2 separate regions of the Homo sapiens genome follow, and region 2 is linked to region 1. Evidence: promoter capture Hi-C in 16 types of primary human blood cells and fetal thymus (Javierre and others, 2016). All regions are on one chromosome and are shown on one strand. The core of a region is centred on a gene start or on the middle of the fragment in contact, and the rest is flanking DNA. Distances in the headings are between cores, read along the strand shown.

What was found. Contacts are between HindIII fragments. The CHiCAGO score rates a contact against its expected background, and 5 or more counts as called.
Region 2: a contact is called between a fragment that was not itself captured here and the fragment with the promoter of ABHD5 in region 1, in 1 of 17 cell types (erythroblasts). The highest score is 5.2, in erythroblasts.

The regions. Positions count from the first base shown.
Region 1 is chr3:43,688,127-43,692,532 of GRCh38, reverse strand. It overlaps ABHD5 (abhydrolase domain containing 5, lysophosphatidic acid acyltransferase), which reads right to left and starts at 1,595. Exons shown (of 7, transcript NM_016006.6): 1 at 1,494-1,595. The coding sequence starts at 1,540. It also overlaps a transcript of ANO10 not described here and the pseudogene TUBAP3. RefSeq lists a silencer at 944-1,423. The HindIII fragment of the contact is 11,295 bases long and covers 1-4,406 here.
Region 2 is chr3:43,538,162-43,542,925 of GRCh38, reverse strand. All of the region lies in intron 11 of ANO10 (anoctamin 10), which reads left to right. Among named protein-coding and RNA genes, the nearest start is that of ANO10, 81 kb to the left of the region's middle. The HindIII fragment of the contact is 3,777 bases long and covers 1,200-4,764 here.

The DNA of each region.
Region 1 (4,406 bases), core at 346-2,845:
GATTTTTTAATCATCTACCTCCAATGACCTCCAACCATCACTCCAAGCCATAAAACCCTTTCACGATTGTGTCCTGGACTCCAAGGCCCCACTACATCAAAACCAAATAGTCCACCTGAAAGTAGTGTCAAGAGTCAAAAATGTTGTGACAAACAAGATGAGAACACAACCTACCAATTACGTTCCTACTTGCGTCCACATGACATTCAACATTTCACCTCAGTGCAACGAGGAAGTTCATCAACAAACCTCAACAAATAAACAAAACTCAAGAGAATAACTTCCTTTCTAATATTTCACAATTTTTCCCCATGACATCTTTCCAAATATCCCTGTCTTCATGGTACTCCATATTCTATCATTTAGGTTATGTTTCCTAGGCAAATTTCTCCAGACGTCTGAAGTAGAACCGACGTCAAAAAATTAAATATATATGGGGGAAGTTTACTTTCCAATACAAACGACAGGCCTTGAGAAACAAGGCAATAACCTCCATAACAATTTAATTATTCCACTCATTAACTACTATTCTTCTACTAACAAGTGCAAGAAGTCATTTAGGTGTAGAAAAGAATAAACTCACTATACCTGTATATAAAAAAGTTTCACATTAGACATCTGCCCTCCAACTTCCACAGTTTCCTATACATTATGTGTGTTCTTCTAAGGCACATGCAACACACACTTCGCCAGTAAAGCCAGAATAATCCCAGAAGCGCAAACAAATAAGGGACAGTGGAGCTTGCAAGCCAAAGACCTTCATCCGAAAGATGAATTATGACATTTGAACGTGTATCTCTATCTTAAGGGCTAACTTTCTTTCTATGAAGTATCTGAAACTCACAGCCATACACCCACTTCCCTCACTCCTTCTCCCCTCCCTCCTTCCCGGCACCCCCGCCCTCCCGCCGCTTCCCGGGCGAATTCGGGCCTCTAATATCCCCTCCAAGGAAGCGCCGCCCCTTCCTACGGCTACGGGAAGGATCGTCCAGTGGCTGAGGCTGGACAGAGCACAGGTAGTACCTGTAGACGGAAGCCGCGATGGGAGGCTGACAGACCCGGTCATTTCCCGCGCCTCGCAGTCAGGTGCAGGGTCGACCGGGCACCGCCCGCCGGCGGCATTGGGGCAGGCCGGGTCCCTTGGCAGAGCCCGAGCCGGTGCGGCCGCCGCGGCCAGCTCCGTCGCCGGCCCGCGGGGTGGCTTATACAACAACGGGGCGGACCCTCCGCGCGGGGTCAAGGCGGCCTCCCGGCGCGGCCGGAGTCCGGCTCAGACACCTCGGGGCCCCGACGCTGAGGGGAGCCTCTCCCAGGCAGAGCGGCGCCGGGACGCCTCTGGGCGCCGCGCGGACTCATGCCGGGGAGGGTCGAGGAAGCCGCCCGTCGTCGCCAGGCGGGCGGCGACTCCTTGGTGCTGCCCGCTGGGCCCTAACCCGGCCCGCGCGGAGGGTGCGCGCCGGAGACACACGAAGCCCCCTGCCGGCTGCGCTTACCTCTCTCCGGTGTCGGCAGAGTCCACCTCCTCCTCCTCCGCCGCCATAGCCGCCGCCGCGCAAGCGCCGGGACTTATCTCGAAGCCGGCTGACAGGCCGACTGGGCCGCCCCGGGCTGGCGCGGCACTTAAGGCGGCGCAGGCCGCCAGCGCATGCGTCTTCCGCGCACTAGCACGGCCCGGCGGCGCGCCCGCGTTTGCGCGTGCGCGGCCTTGCCTCCGGCTTTGCGTCCGCCATCCCCAGCCAGCATGCACTAGTTCTCCCGCCCGACGCTCCCGGGTGTAAGCGCGGGGCGGGACAGTCAGCCCAGAGGGACTGGCGAGACTCACCCGAATGAGTTAGGTGTTTTAGCTAATTTGAATAATGACTGTATTCATGCATCACCCCGTCGGTGTTGGCTGTCAGGTGGCACCTTGGGGACGGAGGTGCGTCCGGTCCTGGAAGAGCCTAGCTAGTGTCCGATAGATGGTGCAGTGGCAAATGAAATGGCGTAATCGAGGTGCTGTGTGGCGTCCCGCCAGCCTTTCCCCGCGGGTTGGGGGGCCAGGGGGAGAGGGCGACTCACAGGAGCCTTCAGTCAGTTGAGCACTGCTCTAGGTGCTGATGTTACTGTAGTGGCCAGAGCCAGCAATTTCCCTCCCACTCGACTCTCTAGATACCTGGGAGGGTGAAAAGAGTCGGTGTTGGCCGGGCGCGGTGGCTCAGGCCTGTAATCCCAGCACTTTGGGCGGCCAAGGCGGGCGGATTTTCTGAGGTCGGGAGTTGGAGACCAGCCTGAGCTGAAGAAACCCCGTCTCTATTAAAAATACAAAATTAGCCGGGCGCGGTGGCGCATACCTGTAATTCCAGCTACTCGGGAGCCTGAGGTAGGAGAATCGCTTGAACTCGGGAGGCGGAGGTTGCGGTGAGCCGAGATCGCACCATTGCACTCCAGCCTGGGCAACAAGAACGAAACTCCGTCTCAAAAAAAAAAAAAAAAGTCTATGTTTAGGTACTTCGAGTTATTGAGGTGAAATGACTAACCTAAATAGCAGTATTTCTTGACCTGTTTTCAAGCCTTTTAGCAATCAGGTGCAACCTGCTTTTGGAATTCTGCCACCCACTACTACTCATCCATTTATGTTTGGTGTGTGTCTACTATGGGCTCACTTTGTTCTAGGTGCTTGAAAACAATGGGTTGAAATACTGCTCCTGTTTTGATAGATCCTACGCGAATATATTAACCTTTATTTTAGACTCAGTTCATTGTTCTCCTTCCCTGACTCTCCTCCCTCTTTTTCTCTCCTCTGAGCCCCACTGTAAACCTGTCTTTATCACCCATCTAGCTCTCAGGTTCTCAGCCTTGTGTAATTGTTACAGCTTTTAAATAAACATTATCGAATATCTTTCCAACTACACGAGAAAGTCCTCTAGGATAGGAATGGTGTCTTCTGTAATTTAGAGGGGGGAAAGCCACTTATAATCTCTTAGGCATAGTAATAACTAATACATTTTTTATTGTGTTTGATCTAATTCATAAAATATTTTAGGGAAGACCAGAACATATAAAAAACATTTTTACAGGAATTCCTGGTTGTTTCATGAAAGGGCCGTATATTCAAAGTGACCTCCAAATACAGAAGGAGCTGAGAAACTAAAGAATGAAGGAGACAAATCCAGCTTGTCAGCAAAAGGTGATTTATTAGGGAACTTACGGACAGAAGCATGGTCTTGGACAGCAGCAAGACAGGTAAATCTCTGTGCTGTTACCCTCCCAGACTAAGGTTGTTTTGACCTAAGGGCAGGTAGGTAAGTATGTGCTCTGATACAATTTGGGTGTTGTCCTCTCTAAATCTCATGTTGAATTGTGATCTCCAGTGTTAGAGGTGGGGTTTGATGGGTGGTGATTAGATTCTGGGGGTGAATTTCTCATGAATGATTTGGCACTATCCCCTTAATGCTGTCCTTGCAATAGTAAGTTCTTGTGAGATCTGGTTGTTTAAAAGTGTATGGCACCTACCCCTCACTCTCTTGCTCCTGCTCTAGTCATGTAAGATGCCTGCTCCCGCTTTGCCCTCTGCCGTGAGTAAATGCTCCCTGTGGCCTTTCCAGAAGCCAAGCTGATACCAGCACCTGTATAGCCTGCAGAACCATGAGCCAATTAACCTTTCTTTATAAATTACCCAGTCCCAGGTAATTCTTTTTTTTTTTTTTTCTAAGACGGAGTTTCACTCTGTTGCCCTGGCTGGAGTGCAGTGGCATGATCTTGGCTCTCTATGACCTGCACCTCCCAGGTTCAAGCAATTCTCCTGCCTCAGCCTCCTGAGTAGCTGGGATTCCAGGCACCCGCCACCACGCCCAGCTAATTTTTTGTATTTTTAGTAGAGATGGGGTTTCACCATGTTGGCCAGGCTGGTCTTGAACTCGTGACCTCAAATGATCCTCCCTCCACTGCCTCCCAAAGTGCTGGGATCACAGGCATGAGCCACCGCGCCCAGCTGTATTTCTTTATAACAATGTAAGAACAGCCTGTCACATGCTCTTATACAAGGAACAATAGATAAAGTAGAAAACTTGGAGGCCTTCCCAAAACTGGGGTTACTCAGAAATCAACATTGTGGATTAGCATCTGAGATGGAGTTACTTTAGCCTCCACAATAGTGTTGCCAGACACTTGTAGTGTGTCTGCAGAAACTGATGCCCTACAATCCCACCTCTCAGAGTGTCTGTTGAAGACCCTACCGCCTGGAACACAGTGCAAGCCCAGTGGTACTGAGTCCAGTAATGAAACCTTAGGATTTTGCAGCAACTCCTGTAGCGCTTTGGTCTTTATGGACCTGGAGTCTGCTCTCAAAGATGCCTGTGCCTGCTGCACAGTCACAAAAAAAGAAAAGAAAGAAAAAAAGAGAGAAAGAGACCATTGATCCAATACTA
Region 2 (4,764 bases), core at 1,839-4,338, 150 kb after region 1:
GCTTACTAATTTGCAGGTCTTGTTACCACTCTCACAAGGCGAGGCATAGATGAGGTTGTATATGTGAAATGCCAAACACAGGGCTGAGTACTTGGTCAAGGCACAGGGGATGTGAGCTGCAGTTCTAACCAGCTTAGTATCAGAATGAAACTTTCGTTATCTTTATTATCATTTTCATGATTATTTGGTTAAGCAGGTAGTGTCACAGCATAGAGGTAGCTTGGGGTGTCAAAGTCTGGTGGTAACTGAATTAGAATCCCAGCATTTCCTTTTAATCTTTGAGTCTCAGTTTCCTTGGATATAAAATGGAGACATTGGTAGTGTACACAAGAAGTGTCAGGCACCATGTTTGATGCAGAGGAGGAAGTGGAAAATTGATAACAGTTTATAGCACCACTGTTGTTAATGAGTTCCTCTTTCAGCAATTAGTTCATATGACTCTGTCAGCTCTAGATTTGTTGTCATGGGCCAGGCTCTCCATCATAGCATTGCATTGGTTCCGTCTGTGTTACAGTTTGCTGCTTACATGTTTATCTCCCTCTCTTACGTACCTTCTATCTGTGGCATGGCTGTTTTCTTCTCTCTGCTGATCTTACTTCCACGCCTCAGCCTAGCCCTCCCTCCCTCTCATTCATCCCTCATCAAGACTTGCTGATTCTGACTTCTGAATATTTGTTTCGGCTCTCTCCCTTGTCACTGAGTTCATGTTCTTACCATTTCTCATCTAGACATACTTTTTAAAACAGCTGTGGTGAGCATAACTCACACACCATACAATTCCCTTATTTAAAGCATACAGTTCAGGAGCTCTCACCTAAACTTTTACAGCAGATCTTTTTTACAGAAGGAAAGCCTTCTGGCTTTCCTGCTTTTCCTCCTTTGGCCCATGCTCTCTACTGCTGGAGTGGTTATTCCTAAATGAAACTCTGATCATATTTCTCTTCCGCTGTGGCCCTCACATGGGTGTCCATGGCTTACAGAAGAAATGCGTTAGTCGAATGCCAGATGTTTGTTAGTCTCCTTCCCCTTCACTTCCCCTGGCTTCCATTCCATCCTTGGATAACCTAGGACCCTTTGTGAAAGTCACTGTTATCATTTACTAAAACTGTATGACAATCACGTGGCTCCATTACCAGATCGAGCTTCCTGAGAGCATGAGCAAGGACAGCATATGATGAAGCCTCAGTAACTGAGAAGCTTCATAAAGTAACTCAGTAGAGTTACTTTAACTCTTTGTTTTCAAGTGATTAAGTAACTGCTTGTTAAACGTTTATTAATTAATGAATGAGTCATATATAGTTTTTTTATTCAGTGTACATATAGTTAGTGCCAATTACTTAAGAATTAATTTATAATTATAAGGACTTTGATAATGTACCTTTGAGAAGTATACTAAGAAAACCCTTAAGTAAAATATTAAAATTATATCATTTATAAGAAAAGGCAAACTATATTGGGCAGTATGGTATAGTGGTTGAGAACATAGGTTCTGGGTTCAAATCCTGGCTACACCACTGACTAGCTCTGTGTCTTCAAATGAGTACCTACTTCTACAAACTTAGGAGGATTAAATGAATAAATGCATGCAGTATGTTTAGTACAGTGCCTGGCAAGATTAAGTGTTTAGTTTTGTTAGCTATTATTGTCATTGTTTCTGAAAAACAATCTGTTGTCATAGAAGTCTCTTCACCTAATTGAAAGGTTTGATTAAGTTCTGAGAATTCAGTTTAAAACTTAGCCTACAAAGGAGCCCACAACAAACTAAGTTACTAATCTGGTCACCATTTCCCATTGTTGAGCATGAGTTGGGTTGGTTTTTTATTTTTGGATTAGGGTGCTTTTGAATAGAATTATGGAACTGGGTTTTTTTTCTTCCTCCTCTTGTTTCCTTTATTCCTGTGATAATCTTGGAATTTACTAGTCTTTCCATGGGCTCTTTAGCTGTTATCTGGATAAAACATTGCTCTGTGTTCTCCTAATGTTGTGGGAATAATTAGTCAAATCAAATGCTTACATTGAATACATATTTATTATGTGCTAAAATATGCTAGGCATTACTATGATACATCCCTGGCTTCAGGAATGCTCACAGACAGAATTATGCAAGAGATACATTTCAGTGCAATAGGAGGCCTCTTTCTTCACCTCCTTCCCCTGTTAACCCAGCTCTCTCCATTCCCTCCTAACAGTGCCCTGACTAGTGCAGGCTCTGTTGGCCTGCTGAGTGGGCATTGGTGTGAGGATGATGGGGAAGATGTCCACTCACTGAGTTTATGGCTCACCAAGAGGCATTTTGTTCCCAAATCTGTTTATGTGTGGTATTCTTGTTACTGTAATTGGCATAATTTAATGAAATGGAATGGAGAATGATGAAAAGTGTGTGCTAAAATAGAGCCATCATTTCTATGAAAACCTTTGGAAAGACTTCATAAAGACAAATTGCTGTCAGATTGAATAAAGATGAGACAATTATAAAAGATTAGGGAAAAATCATCAGAATATGGACAGCCAGATTCTGTTTTTACATTGCTTCACAAGTGTCTTTAAGTTTTCACTCTCCTTTAAAGAAAACAAACCTGGGCATCTTAGACATTGTCTTATAGGTGTTATTTAGGCGCAGCAGAGAGTGAGACAGTCCATCACTGGATCCTACTCAGAGGAAGGGCCCTAGCTCTACAGCAAAAGATTTGCAAATTAGTGTACATTTAAATGTTTGCTAAAACAAAATGAATATATGCATTTTGTATGATTCTGCATTTTAGCTGTTTTGATTAACGAAGGAATTATTGGCCCCAATTGTGTCATCTAAATGGGCTTCTGTTCCTTGGGAGTGCTAAATTAGGATTTTAAGTTTGTCAAGTAATGGGAAATACTTGTTTTGTTGAAAAACCCAATGCCCTTGGAATTGATGGTTAATGTATAATCTGTTTAAATATGACTTAGTTAACATCCAGTTTTTGCAGATTACATTGCAATTTTTTAAGGTCTTACAGTGGGTAACCTAACCTGTTTCTTGCCTAAGAAAGTTTAGGAGAAGGCAAGTCTCACCCCTCTGCAAGAGATCGTTTTACACTCAGAATAGAGTTGTTTTCAGAAAACAATTGTCTGAAAGGAGGTAAGCATTAGAAAATTCAACAGCTTCTCTGTACTCTTAAGCCATAATTTCAAAGTCTGGCATCATTATTTTGTTTAAAGTGAAATCACAGAACATCATATGTATCCATATTCAAATGTAAATACTTCAGATATCCACAAACAAAAAACTGATTTGGGTTATTCATCTTTGAGGACTGTTGCTCTTGTCTCTTCTCATTTCATGCTTTCAAGACCTTCTGTCAATTACCTGCTCCCTCTGCTGTCTCCTACTGCACCCCAGCCTGTGCTTCCCGCTCTCAACAACAGACCTGCTAGGTGCGTCACCCTCCTCTGGGACCTGCTTGCTAACCTCATTCTTGCATGACAGTTAACTTTCCTTTCAGATGCCTGAACTGATCCAGAGTCAAACTGACCCTCTTTCTCTGACTTCCTATCTATTTTAATGGGGAGATAAAAAAGCACGTTTGGTTTTATTTTTTTTTTCTAGGTTGGAAAGCAAGTGTTGCTTTAGAAAGTTGAAAATAGACTTGCAACACATAAGAAACCCCTGTTCTTTGCAATATTGAGTTGTGTGTTGAGCAGTCTCAAATCTAATGGGAATACATTTGAGGTGGCTCTGTGTGGCAGGGGACCCGTTGAAAAAGTGGAATGTGGGGGCAGCTCCAGTACCAGGAGGGAGCAGGAGGGGTGAAATAAGAGACTGTAGGTTTTCTTAGGGAGAGTGGAGAGTATGAATTGGGGGATAAGAGGTAATGGATGGGGAAACTGATGGAGGGCTCTAAGGTCATGATGAAAACTTTATAGCCCATTTACATTTTATTCCAAAATGGTATTTTAAAAAACACTTTCAAAGTCATGACTGCAGTATTCATTTTCATTCACTAACATAAATTCTACTTGGCCATTCCAGTGATCTCTAAAAATGAATAGATTGTGGATTGAATTTACTGTATCTTCTTATTGTGAGATTGAACTTCCAATCCTCTCCTTACCAGGAGCAGCCTCTTCGTTGGGTTGAGGAAGCTGAAACAGTTCTTGTCTATGAAGCACCTGCCCCTGTGTGTGTAGACAGCAGGCCGTTCTCCATCCTGCATCCCCCTCTGCATCTAGCCTCTCCTGTCTCTGGTCCAACCACCCTCAAGTCCAAAAGACCAGCTGGAGTCTGCCTCAGCTTCTCCTCTTGATTGTTCTCAAATCCACCTCATTTTTTCCGTTTCTTCAGTCCTGTGGGTTAGATCCCAGTTCTTTATGCCTGCCATCGTTACAGTTTTTTTCTTCTGCCAGAATTACAAAGCTGCCATAGTAATTGTTGTTAAAAAAACCTGTTCTTTAAGGTATCCTTCTGTATTTTCACATAACTTGTTTTATTTCCGTTTTAAAAATTTTTTCTGAATTTCTAGTCAGTGCTGGAGATACAAAGAAAATAAATTCACCCTTCTTTTGGAAGAGCTGGACTCACAAGCAAGATCATTTCAGTACAGTTTTTGATACCTCTTTTCTTATTTTTTTTCCTCAGTTAAAATGCTGTTCTTAAATTCATATTTGTCAATGTGTAGACCCTGTTCAATAACCCATTTCTTTAGGAATGGTTTCCCACATTAACAATACCCCAAACTCAAAATGCTGTGTTAGTATGCTACGTCAAATTTCACTTTTAGAAACACTTAG